2 separate regions of the Homo sapiens genome follow, and region 2 is linked to region 1. Evidence: promoter capture Hi-C in human tissues and cell types (Jung and others, 2019). All regions are on one chromosome and are shown on one strand. The core of a region is centred on a gene start or on the middle of the fragment in contact, and the rest is flanking DNA. Distances in the headings are between cores, read along the strand shown. Region 1 holds the start of CDIPT (CDP-diacylglycerol--inositol 3-phosphatidyltransferase). Region 2 holds the start of ZNF668 (zinc finger protein 668).

Evidence for each region. Contacts are between HindIII fragments. The study calls those that stand out against the background at their distance.
Region 2: a contact is called between the fragment with the promoter of ZNF668 here and the fragment with the promoter of CDIPT in region 1, in 1 of the 25 tissues and cell types used here (hippocampus).

Annotation. Positions count from the first base shown.
Region 1 is chr16:29,860,675-29,865,421 of GRCh38, forward strand. CDIPT (CDP-diacylglycerol--inositol 3-phosphatidyltransferase) reads right to left here and starts at 2,552. Exons shown (of 6, transcript NM_006319.5): 1 at 2,141-2,552; 2 at 1,912-2,046; 3 at 432-585. The coding sequence starts at 2,183. It also overlaps the pseudogene CDIPTOSP. RefSeq lists enhancers at 1-517, 2,673-3,210 and silencers at 2,245-2,554, 2,565-2,624. The HindIII fragment of the contact is 6,529 bases long and covers 1,636-4,747 here.
Region 2 is chr16:31,072,312-31,076,821 of GRCh38, forward strand. ZNF668 (zinc finger protein 668) reads right to left here and starts at 1,929. Exons shown (of 3, transcript NM_024706.5): 1 at 1,348-1,929. ZNF646 (zinc finger protein 646) reads left to right here and starts at 2,111. Exons shown (of 3, transcript NM_014699.4): 1 at 2,111-2,320; 2 at 3,935-4,510. The coding sequence starts at 4,014. RefSeq lists enhancers at 805-1,605, 897-1,191, 1,811-2,344, 1,850-1,989, 2,345-2,877 and a silencer at 1,080-1,539. The HindIII fragment of the contact is 1,997 bases long and covers 921-2,917 here.

The DNA of each region.
Region 1 (4,747 bases), core at 1,302-3,801:
ACAGGGGAACCCACAAGGTTTCATGACCACTACCATGCATCCAATCCTCATGTTAACACCTATTGTACAGATGGAAAACTGGGCACGGCTAAGGACCAGTATCCTGCCGAAAGCCACAGTTACCTATTTGGGGGCAGAGTCAGGATTCAAATGCCACATTTGAAAGCTCCCATGCCCCTTCCTATAAGCTGTCACCTATATGGAATCCTAGAATACCCAGCCAGAAGAGTCCTAAGAATTGCTTAATGCAACTGTAAACATGACTGAAGCTTTAAAGAGAGGCAGGTTTGCCTGGGGTCTTTCTACAAAGCAGAGCTAAAAAGGAGCCCTTCCAGGATGCCTAGTGCCATCCCAGACACCCTTCCGTCTAGGCTCAGCCCACCCCACTGTAATGTCTCCAAGTGGCCCAGGCCCCCAGAATCGCAGCAGACCTGTGGAGGTGCAGCCAGTGACTGGCCACATCCAAACTCATGCTGATTTGGAAGAACAGCGTGGCTCCAGGGTACAGCAGGGCCAGGTTGACCAACAGGCACATGGTGGAGCAGCGGTCCGTCAGCATGTCCAGCATGGCCCCAAACCGGGTTCCTGGAAGATTAGGTGGGCAAGGGCTGTTATGGCACAGTGGATGCAGGACAGGTGCCCATATTTGGTTTATCACTCTGACGCAGGGTGTAAACGAAGACTGGAAGTGTCCGCCTGCCTGGGGAGGAACGCAGGCTAGAAAACAGGCTGTGTGTGAGGTCAGTGGGCAAAGGTCACCATGGCATGAACTGAGAAAGGCATGAGAGTGGAGGGAACAGGGTAGGAGGAGAGGAAAGCTATGTCTGCAACTCATCAACCCCAGAACCAAGACTCCAGGGCTAGATAGAGACTTGATGCCTCAGGGGAAGCCTTACAGTTGGGTCTGGAGAACAGATTAAAAAATTAGTCAACCCTCCAGAAGCCATCACCCTTCCCTCTCCATCCTCCCTCTAAGCATGCCTTCTGGAACCCCAACTGCTTATGCAGGGCACACAGTAGGCCTCCAGTAAACACCTGTTGAATACACTGTTTTTTGTTTTTTGTTTTTTTTTTTCCGAGACAGAGTCTTGCTCTGTCGCCCAGGCTGGAGTGCAATGGCGCAATCTTGGCTCACTGCAACCTCCGCCTCCCGGGTTCAAGCAATTCTCCTGCCTTAGCCTCCCGAGTAGCTGGGATTACAGGCACGCGTCACCAAGCCCGCTAATTTTTGTATTTTTAGTAGAGACAGGGTTTCACCATGTTGGCCAGGCTGGTCTCGAACTCCTGAACTCGTGATCCACCCACCTCGGCCTCCCAAAGTGCTGGGATTACAGGCGTGAGCCACCGCCCCTGGCCTGAATGGACTTGTATTCAGAGAGACCTCCAGCAGCGCCACCGCCATGTCATGTCTTGCTAATCCACACCTCTCACAAGCAGTGAGTTCTCAAGAGCTAGCTTAAATTCCTTTTGCTACAAAATCAGTCCATTCTTGCTGGGCGCGGCACTTTGGGAGCAAGGCAGGAGGATCGCTTGAGGCTAGGAGCTGGGGACCAATCTGGGCGACACTGCAAGACCCAGTCTCTACAAAAATTTAAAAATTAGCCGGGTGTGGTGGCACGCTCCTGTAGTCCCAGCTAGTCAGGAGGCTGAGGTGGGAGGATTACTTGAGCCCAGAAGATGGGGGCTGCAGTGAGCCATGATCGCGCCACTGCACTCCAGCCTAAGTGACAGAGCGAGACCCTGTCTCAAAAACAAAAAAACAAAACACAAAACAAAAAGCCCCAGGCCATCCTGTTCTGCTTTTTCCAGAGATGGGAATGACAGCCCTCTGACTCTGAGGTCCCGAGGAGGCAGGGGAAGGGAGGAGGGGATTGTTGAACCCCAAGGCTGGCTGAGAGGGGTGTCTGTCACCTTGATTAAGAGCGCGAGCAGCGTGTCCATCGAAAGCGTCCAGCAGGCCGCTGAGCAGGTAGAAGGAGGAGGCCGTGAGGGGGCAGCAGGGCATGAAGTAGAAAGAAATGATGGCGAAGACAATCCGGGCATAACCTTGGAACGGGACGCGGGGAGACAGGGCAGGATCAGGGAGCCCGCCAAGGCCCCTCGCCCTCTCGTTCGGCCCGGGGCCGTGGGCAGCACTCACCGATGAGGTTGGGCACGAACAGGAAGATATTTTCGTCTGGCATCGCGGCGCCTCCCTTGCTGCCCCGGGCCTGCTCTGGAGATGCCAGTGCTGTCCCAGCCCCGCAGCGCGGCCTCAGCCTCCGGCCCGGCGCATCGGCCGCACCACCTGCGCCCTGGACCCCGCCGCCCCAACCTGGCCCCAGATGCTGAAGCCCGCAGCCGTCGGGAGCATGGACCGGCCCCGAGGTGCGCGGGACGCAGGGGGCGCGCGCAGTCCGCCCTTCCTACCCGCAACCTCCCTCGCCTCTGCCAGCCCCGCAGGCGCTCCGGGCCTCCAGCTGCGGTCGCCGCTGCTCCAGCTGCGCGTGGCTTCCGGGAACCTCCTCCTCCGCGCCCGTCGTTGCAAAATTGGAGAGAGGAAAAAGTGGCTTAAAAAAATAGTTGCGGCCCCTTTAAGGCCTGTCGGCTTCCTTTCCCTTTTCCTCCCTCCGCCCCTCTCCCTTGGCTCGTACCAAAGCGCAGAGGAGGAGAGGGAGGAAGGAACCATTAACGTCAAGCAAAGTTAGAAACGGAAAAGGAAAGGGTAAAAGAGAAGACCGAATAAAAATCTCTGCTTTCCTTTTGTGGAGGGTATGACTTCCTGGAGGCAAAGATAAGGCGATAAAATTCCTCCTCCTGAGTCTTTGCGTCCCCAAGAGGCCAGGAGATTTGGTGCAGTCCTCACTTTACTCCCCGCCCCCTAAGTCTCCAGCCGCCTTTGCTCTCGCAGGCTCTAGGCGGCTAGAGAGGCTCCAGAGCGCCCTGCAGATGGGTTGCTTTTCGCGTGCCCCTTGTGATGGGAGGATTAGGTCGCAGGCTCCACCCTACGTCATCCTCCCAAGCTTCTCAAGCGTCTGGCGCTTGGGGTCACTGCCCTCAAGGAGGCACCTGGAGGGGTACGGAGGGGAGGCTGGAGGAGCAAACGGGGCGCGCTAGGAAATTCCTCTGTCTTTAGTTCTAGAACCCCTGATCTCCTAGCAACGAGGCTGCGGAACCTCTGCAGACTCCAAGGGTTTTATAGCGTCCGGTAGCGACACGGAGCCGGCTCCCCCTTTTCCAGCCTTCCTCCCCATCTCCCATTCTCCATCCCCCACGACCTATACCAGAGGTCCTTAGGCCTCCACGTCTCTCCTTTTGCCGAGTAGCCCAAGGTTTCCACCCATCTGCCAGGTCTGGGGCGTCAAGTCGGCTGCCTCGGCTTGGGAAGGTGCTTGGGAGGGAAGAAGGAAGGAGAGGCCCACCAGGCGAAGGGGTGAGGGGTAGGGGGTTGCGGGAGTTCCCTCTCACTCCCGAAGATATAAAGCAACCTTTATTATTATTATTATTTTTTCTTGTGAGAGGGAATGAGGCAGCGGGATGTTTCCTCTAAAGGCCTTGTTTAAACCTGGGCCCGGGGAATGGTGGTGGACTGGGTTCTGGGGGAAAGCGGGCTGGTTTCTCAGGTCAACTCAGGCTTCGACTGTTCCCAGGGGGATGGCGTCCACTCCGATGGGGAATGAGGGGGAGAAGAAGAGCAGCTGGCCATCTCAAGCTGCACCCTCCTTGAGAGGAGGTCCGGTGAGCACTGCAGGGAACCCTAGAGGTGGGAATGTAATGAAGTGAAAGCCTCCCAGGCAGAGGCACCCCGTGCCAGGTCTGAGCCACGGGCCCTGAGACTCTAGCCTCAACCCTGAGTCCTGAAGCCCCGACTCATAGCTCTCAGCACTAGGCCCTGACTCTAAACCCCCACCAAACCCCCCTCCCCCAGGTCCAGAGCTTTCTAGCTAAATCTCAAGGCCCAGTCCTTCAGGAGCAAGCTCCTTGGACCCACAGGCCCCAGCCTGGGAACTCCCACAGCCAGCACTCCCATGTGGGAGCTCCCAGGCTGAACCCCTCCGGCTTTTCCTTTCCCAGGCTTCGTTATCTCGTTCTGAGGAATACCTGTCCCAGATCAGTGCAGAACTCATGGAGGAGGCTTTGTGCACTGCTTGCTGCCACTTGAACCCTGTGCCCATCAAAAAAAAGCAGTCACAAGACCAAGCGACTCAGATATCCAAACGCGGTAACCCCCTGCCTCAGGACCACCGTGTCTAGAGAACCGCTGCCCCCACTATGCCTGGTTACAGTCCCTGACCCCTCCCACCCCTAGCTGAACTCTCCAGGAGTCTGTGCCCATCTCATCCATCTCACAGCCAGCCCTAGGACCTGTGAAATGCCCCTCTCACCCGCTAACCCAGTACCCACTCCTCACTGCTGGCCGAGAATCCCCTTAGCCCCGTCTGCCCTGGCCGCATCTCTTCTGGCCACGGGGATAGTCCTTTCTCTGACTAGGTCCTCTACTTCCAGCATTCTTCACCAAGACCTGAGGCACAGACACCTGGTGAGTGAGGCTTCAAGGGAGATGCTCTTTGTCCTGGGAGAGAGGTGAGGAACCTGGAGGGGAGAGAGTGAGGGTTTCACAATATCCCAGCAGGGTGGGGGAATTTTTGAACCGTGCACTTCCATTCTATTCTGCCCTGATCCTCAAATTCTGAATTCTCAGCCCTCTCCCCTCTCTTCCACCATCTCCTGCTCGGACAGAAACCGTACCTGCAGCAAGGCATACCTC
Region 2 (4,510 bases), core at 679-3,178, 1.2 Mb after region 1:
GGTCTGTAGCCTCTGCCTCCTCCACAGTAGGAGTTTGTGAGAATGTCCACCAATAACTGTTTATTAACTAAATTCCTCCACCTTTCCAACTCCACAAGGCTCAACTATTGCCCCAATATCCCACAGTGGGCTCCCTGTCGTGGCGATGAAGCCTTGCTTTGCCTCACTACTGGCTTAGGAAGGGGATGAAGTTCTGCTGTCTCACTAGGCAAGCAAAGATTCAATTTCCAAAAATCCTAGGCTAGGACCCTGGGGCAGGGATGAGGAGAAAAAGGAGGCACCTCAATCTTCCCATCTCTAAACAAGCAGTCACCACACAGGCCTCACGGCCAGGAGTGACGTAGTGAGCGGATGAACCCTGCAGAAGTGAGCGCTAATCATATCCTAGGCCTCCTACCGGGCCAGTTCACAACCTGATCCCAACCTACTTTTCCAGCCTCAGCTCCAGCGACAGAGTCCTCCTCCCGGCAGCGACCGAACCTCCAGCCACAATTCTCAATCCTCCACCTCTAGATGCAGTTTCCTGGGCTCGGGGAGCCCTTGCCTGCCTTCTCCAACGGGAAAGCCCCTTTACATCCTTCAAGAACCCCCTTCCCTAGTGCCCTCAGGAATACTTTATGGCAGTAGAGAGGTAAGGGCCCCACGCCGCTCTGGACCTCAGTTTCCTCATCAGTAAAATGGGGTCCCTTAAGTTTGTGGGAGTTTGAAGGGCGGTGGGGCCTACGAAGCGCGCCGAGGAGCCGAGAGTTGCAGAAACCCGGAGCTCCTCGCTCCTCGCAACCGTCTGTACGCGGCGCCCCCGCCAGCCAGGCAGCCCCTGGAGGGCAGGACCCCGGTTATAAGCCTCAGAAAACGTGGCTTCGGAGGACGTGGCAAGGAGGACTGAACGAAGGATGAGGAGATGAACAAATGAATGGACGGAAGGCCGAATGAGGGACAAAGGCTTGCAAGATGGCGTTCTCTAGGACCGCGGGAGTGGTGGCCGGGCCTCAGCAGGGGAGGGGGCCGCCGGCGCCTGGGATCTTGCAGCGCGGGCCACGCGACCGGGACAAAAACCCAAAACATGGCGGGCTCTAGGACCCCCGGGACCACACCGCGCCGGGCCAGCAGCCGCGCGGGCCGAGCCTGGGTGTCCGCAGCCCAGAACCGCGGAGACAGCCGGCGGGTTCTAGGACCTGCTGGGCCCGCAATGCGCCCGGGGCCGCTCACAGCCCGCCCCGCCCGCGCTGCTCGCGCTGGGCCAACCCGGCCCGCCCTCGGCGCCCGCAGGGAAACTGAGGCCAGCTCGGATCGTGGCCGCGTGGGAGCTGCCCGGGGCCCTCGCGGCTTCCCGCCGACGTTTCCTACCTGATGAGACTTGTGCTGACTCCGTGGCGTCGGCGTCGGCTCCTCGCACCGACGGAGCCCGGACCCTGCCAAACAGGGGCCGGCGCTAGGACCCAGCGGGGGGCGGGGAGGTGGGACCGGTGGCGCGGCGAGCGGAAGTGAGGGATCTTCCTCAGCTAGGAAGGAAGGGAAAGTTCCCGGGGAACCTCCAGCCTATGGCGGCAGAGAAGCATCTTGCAAGAGGTCTCTGTGTGTGCTGAGGCAAGGGGACGCCAGGCAGGCTGACGGTATACGCCCGCCTTGTGTTAGTCTGGGGCCAGGTCACCGGCAATGTCTTCAAGAACCAGAAGGTGGGAGGACAAAAAGGCCATGCTCAAGCTCTGCAAAACCTAAGTCCAATTATATTCCACAACATTTCCTTTAATAGCAAGGAGTGGGTTTCACGAAGTTTTCTCCATCTGCCTTGGGAAAAGTCCTCCAGAGAGCCCCACGAAAAGTGTCACCAAAGTACTGTGGCCAGGGCTGTAGAATCTTTTTCTCCCTTTCTGCGCCTATTCAATATGCACCGGAACGATTCTAGCTGCTCTTGCCGGAAGTGTGGCTAGCTTAGCGTGCAAAGACGCCGCGTTGTGACCTACGTGGGCGGAGTCAGCCGTGCAGACCTAGAACTTAGCGCCGGAAGTGTGTCTGCGTAAAACTGCGGCTCGGAGGCGGGACAGGCAGTGCTCCCGAAGCGGAAGTTTCGCGGGGAAGCTTTTGCACCTAAGGACACTTCCTGTTTCCTAGTAACAATAGGAAGTGTCCGTAGAGCTGGGAGTAGACTCCTGGCTCATGCCAGCTGCGCCCTCTTTTCTCTACCTCCTTCCTCTTCCCCCCTTCTCCTTTCCCTCTTTCCCTTCCCTCCCACCTCCCGGGAACCCTGGCTGAGTGTGCGTGTGTGGGAGCGCGAGAGCCCCCCGACAGCCACCCCTTGGGGCGCGCGGCTGCAGTTAGGGTAAGGGTCCCAGTGCGCAGGCGCGCTCTTGTTCGCGGTCCCCAACTGACGCGCCCGCGGCGGGAAGGAGAGGGGGCCGCCGGTGCGAGGTAGGCGTCCTGAGAGGAAATTGGCAGACGAGATGAGTGAGGTCAGAGGACTTCATTGGTGGTTGACTAGGGGAGGGGACTTTTGATCAAAGGGGCTTTGTGAGGTGAGAATTCCGGGGGCAGGTTCAGTGAAGGGGTTTACGGTCGGAGACAGTTGTACTGGGGTCCCATGGGAAGAAGAGTCAGAGTTGGAGAAGGACAAGACGATGTAGGGGGCATGAGAGAGCAAGGGCTTTGGGATGAAGACCGCCTCAGTCAGGGGGTTTGCTGTTACGTGAACTAGAATAACAGGCATTGCCGTGTGTTCTGAGGATTGAGTAACACAATGAATATAGTTAGCACAGTGCCTGGCACATGGTAATATAATACTCTTCATGAGTTGCTGTCATCATCAGTATTAAGAGAGGAGGCAGAAGAAAAAAATGAGAAAGACTGGTGAGGGTAAGATCAGGAGGCATGGGAGAGAAAAGGTAGGCAATGAAGTGACATTACAACCTGGTATTGATGTTATTCCCAAGATGGAAGATAGTTTGAGTTCAAGGGAAGTAGATAAAAGAAGTCGCTAAGAGAGTCTTTTGGGGTTTTTTGTTTTTTTGAGATGGAGTCTCGCTCTGTCACCCAGGCTGGAGTGCTGTGGTGGGATCTCAGCTCACTGCAACCTCCACCTCCCAGGTTCAAGCAGTTCTTCAGCCTCAGCCTCCTGAGTAGCTAGAATTACAGGTGCCCACCACCACGCCCGGCTAATTTTTGTATTTTTAGTAGAGACAGGGTTTCACCATGTTGTCCAGGCTGGTCTTGAACTCCTGAACTCAGGTGATCCACCAGCCTCGGCCTCCCAAAGTGCTGGGATTACAGGCGTGAGCCACCACACCTGGCCCAGTTAAGAGAGTCTTAACTCTCTTAACTCTCTTGTCACAAGGAAAAGAGACCTTGTGACACTGAAATGACTCGGGGTGGTGGGGGAACAAGCCAGCCCTTTCCCTGAAGGAGGCCTCTAACCTCTCCTCTCAGGTCCTCAGCTATTAACTGGAGGAAACAGCTGCTTTTTCAGTGCTTCTCAGCTACTCTGTTTAGCTGAGAGATGAAGTAGGAAGATTTGGACTTCTCTTATTGAAAGGCCTAGAGAAGGTTTTGGTGTCCTTTTAAGATGTCACAGAAAATTTTTGTTTCAGGATTGTAGGGAGCAGATTCCTACTGTTCTTAAAGGACAGTAATGCCTTTTGAGTCTGGTCTGAAGAACATAACAGGTCTGTGATCAGAAGTAGGTTGCATCTCTCTCAACTTTAATTTCCTTAGCTATACCTGTAGGGATGACTTAAGCCTAGGGGAGCTCCTATATTTGGGAAGCTTGTGCACAGGGAAGCCTTAAATGATGGTGCCTGCAGATTGGATCTAGTAGAAATTAGGTCCTTGGGCATGGATGCTTGGGGAACCTCTCAGTGACCTCAGGTGAACTTGTTGCTCGTAGAGCCAAGAGGCGAAGTTAATTCAGGCCTTCCTTTTGACCACTGCCCCCTCTTCCTAGGCCTTGGCCCCTCCACCAGAGGAAGGTGCTGCCACGTGTCTGCTCCTTCTGAACCTCCAGGTTTCTGCTACGTTGCCCCATGGAGGACACACCCCCCTCACTCAGCTGCTCCGACTGTCAGCGCCACTTTCCCAGCCTCCCAGAGCTCTCTCGGCACCGAGAACTGCTCCATCCATCTCCCAACCAGGACAGTGAGGAGGCTGACAGCATCCCTCGGCCCTACCGTTGTCAGCAGTGTGGGCGGGGCTACCGTCACCCCGGGAGCCTGGTTAACCATCGTCGGACCCACGAGACTGGCCTTTTCCCCTGTACCACCTGTGGCAAGGACTTCTCCAATCCCATGGCTCTCAAGAGCCATATGAGGACACATGCTCCTGAGGGCCGCCGCAGGCACAGGCCCCCACGCCCCAAGGAAGCCACTCCACACCTCCAGGGTGAGACGGTGTCCACTGACTCCTGGGGCCAAAGGCTTGGCTCTAGTGAAGGCTGGGAAAACCAGACAAAACATACAGAAGAGACACCTGACTGTGAATCTGTACCTGACCCCAGGGCAGCTTCGGGTACGTGGGAAGATCT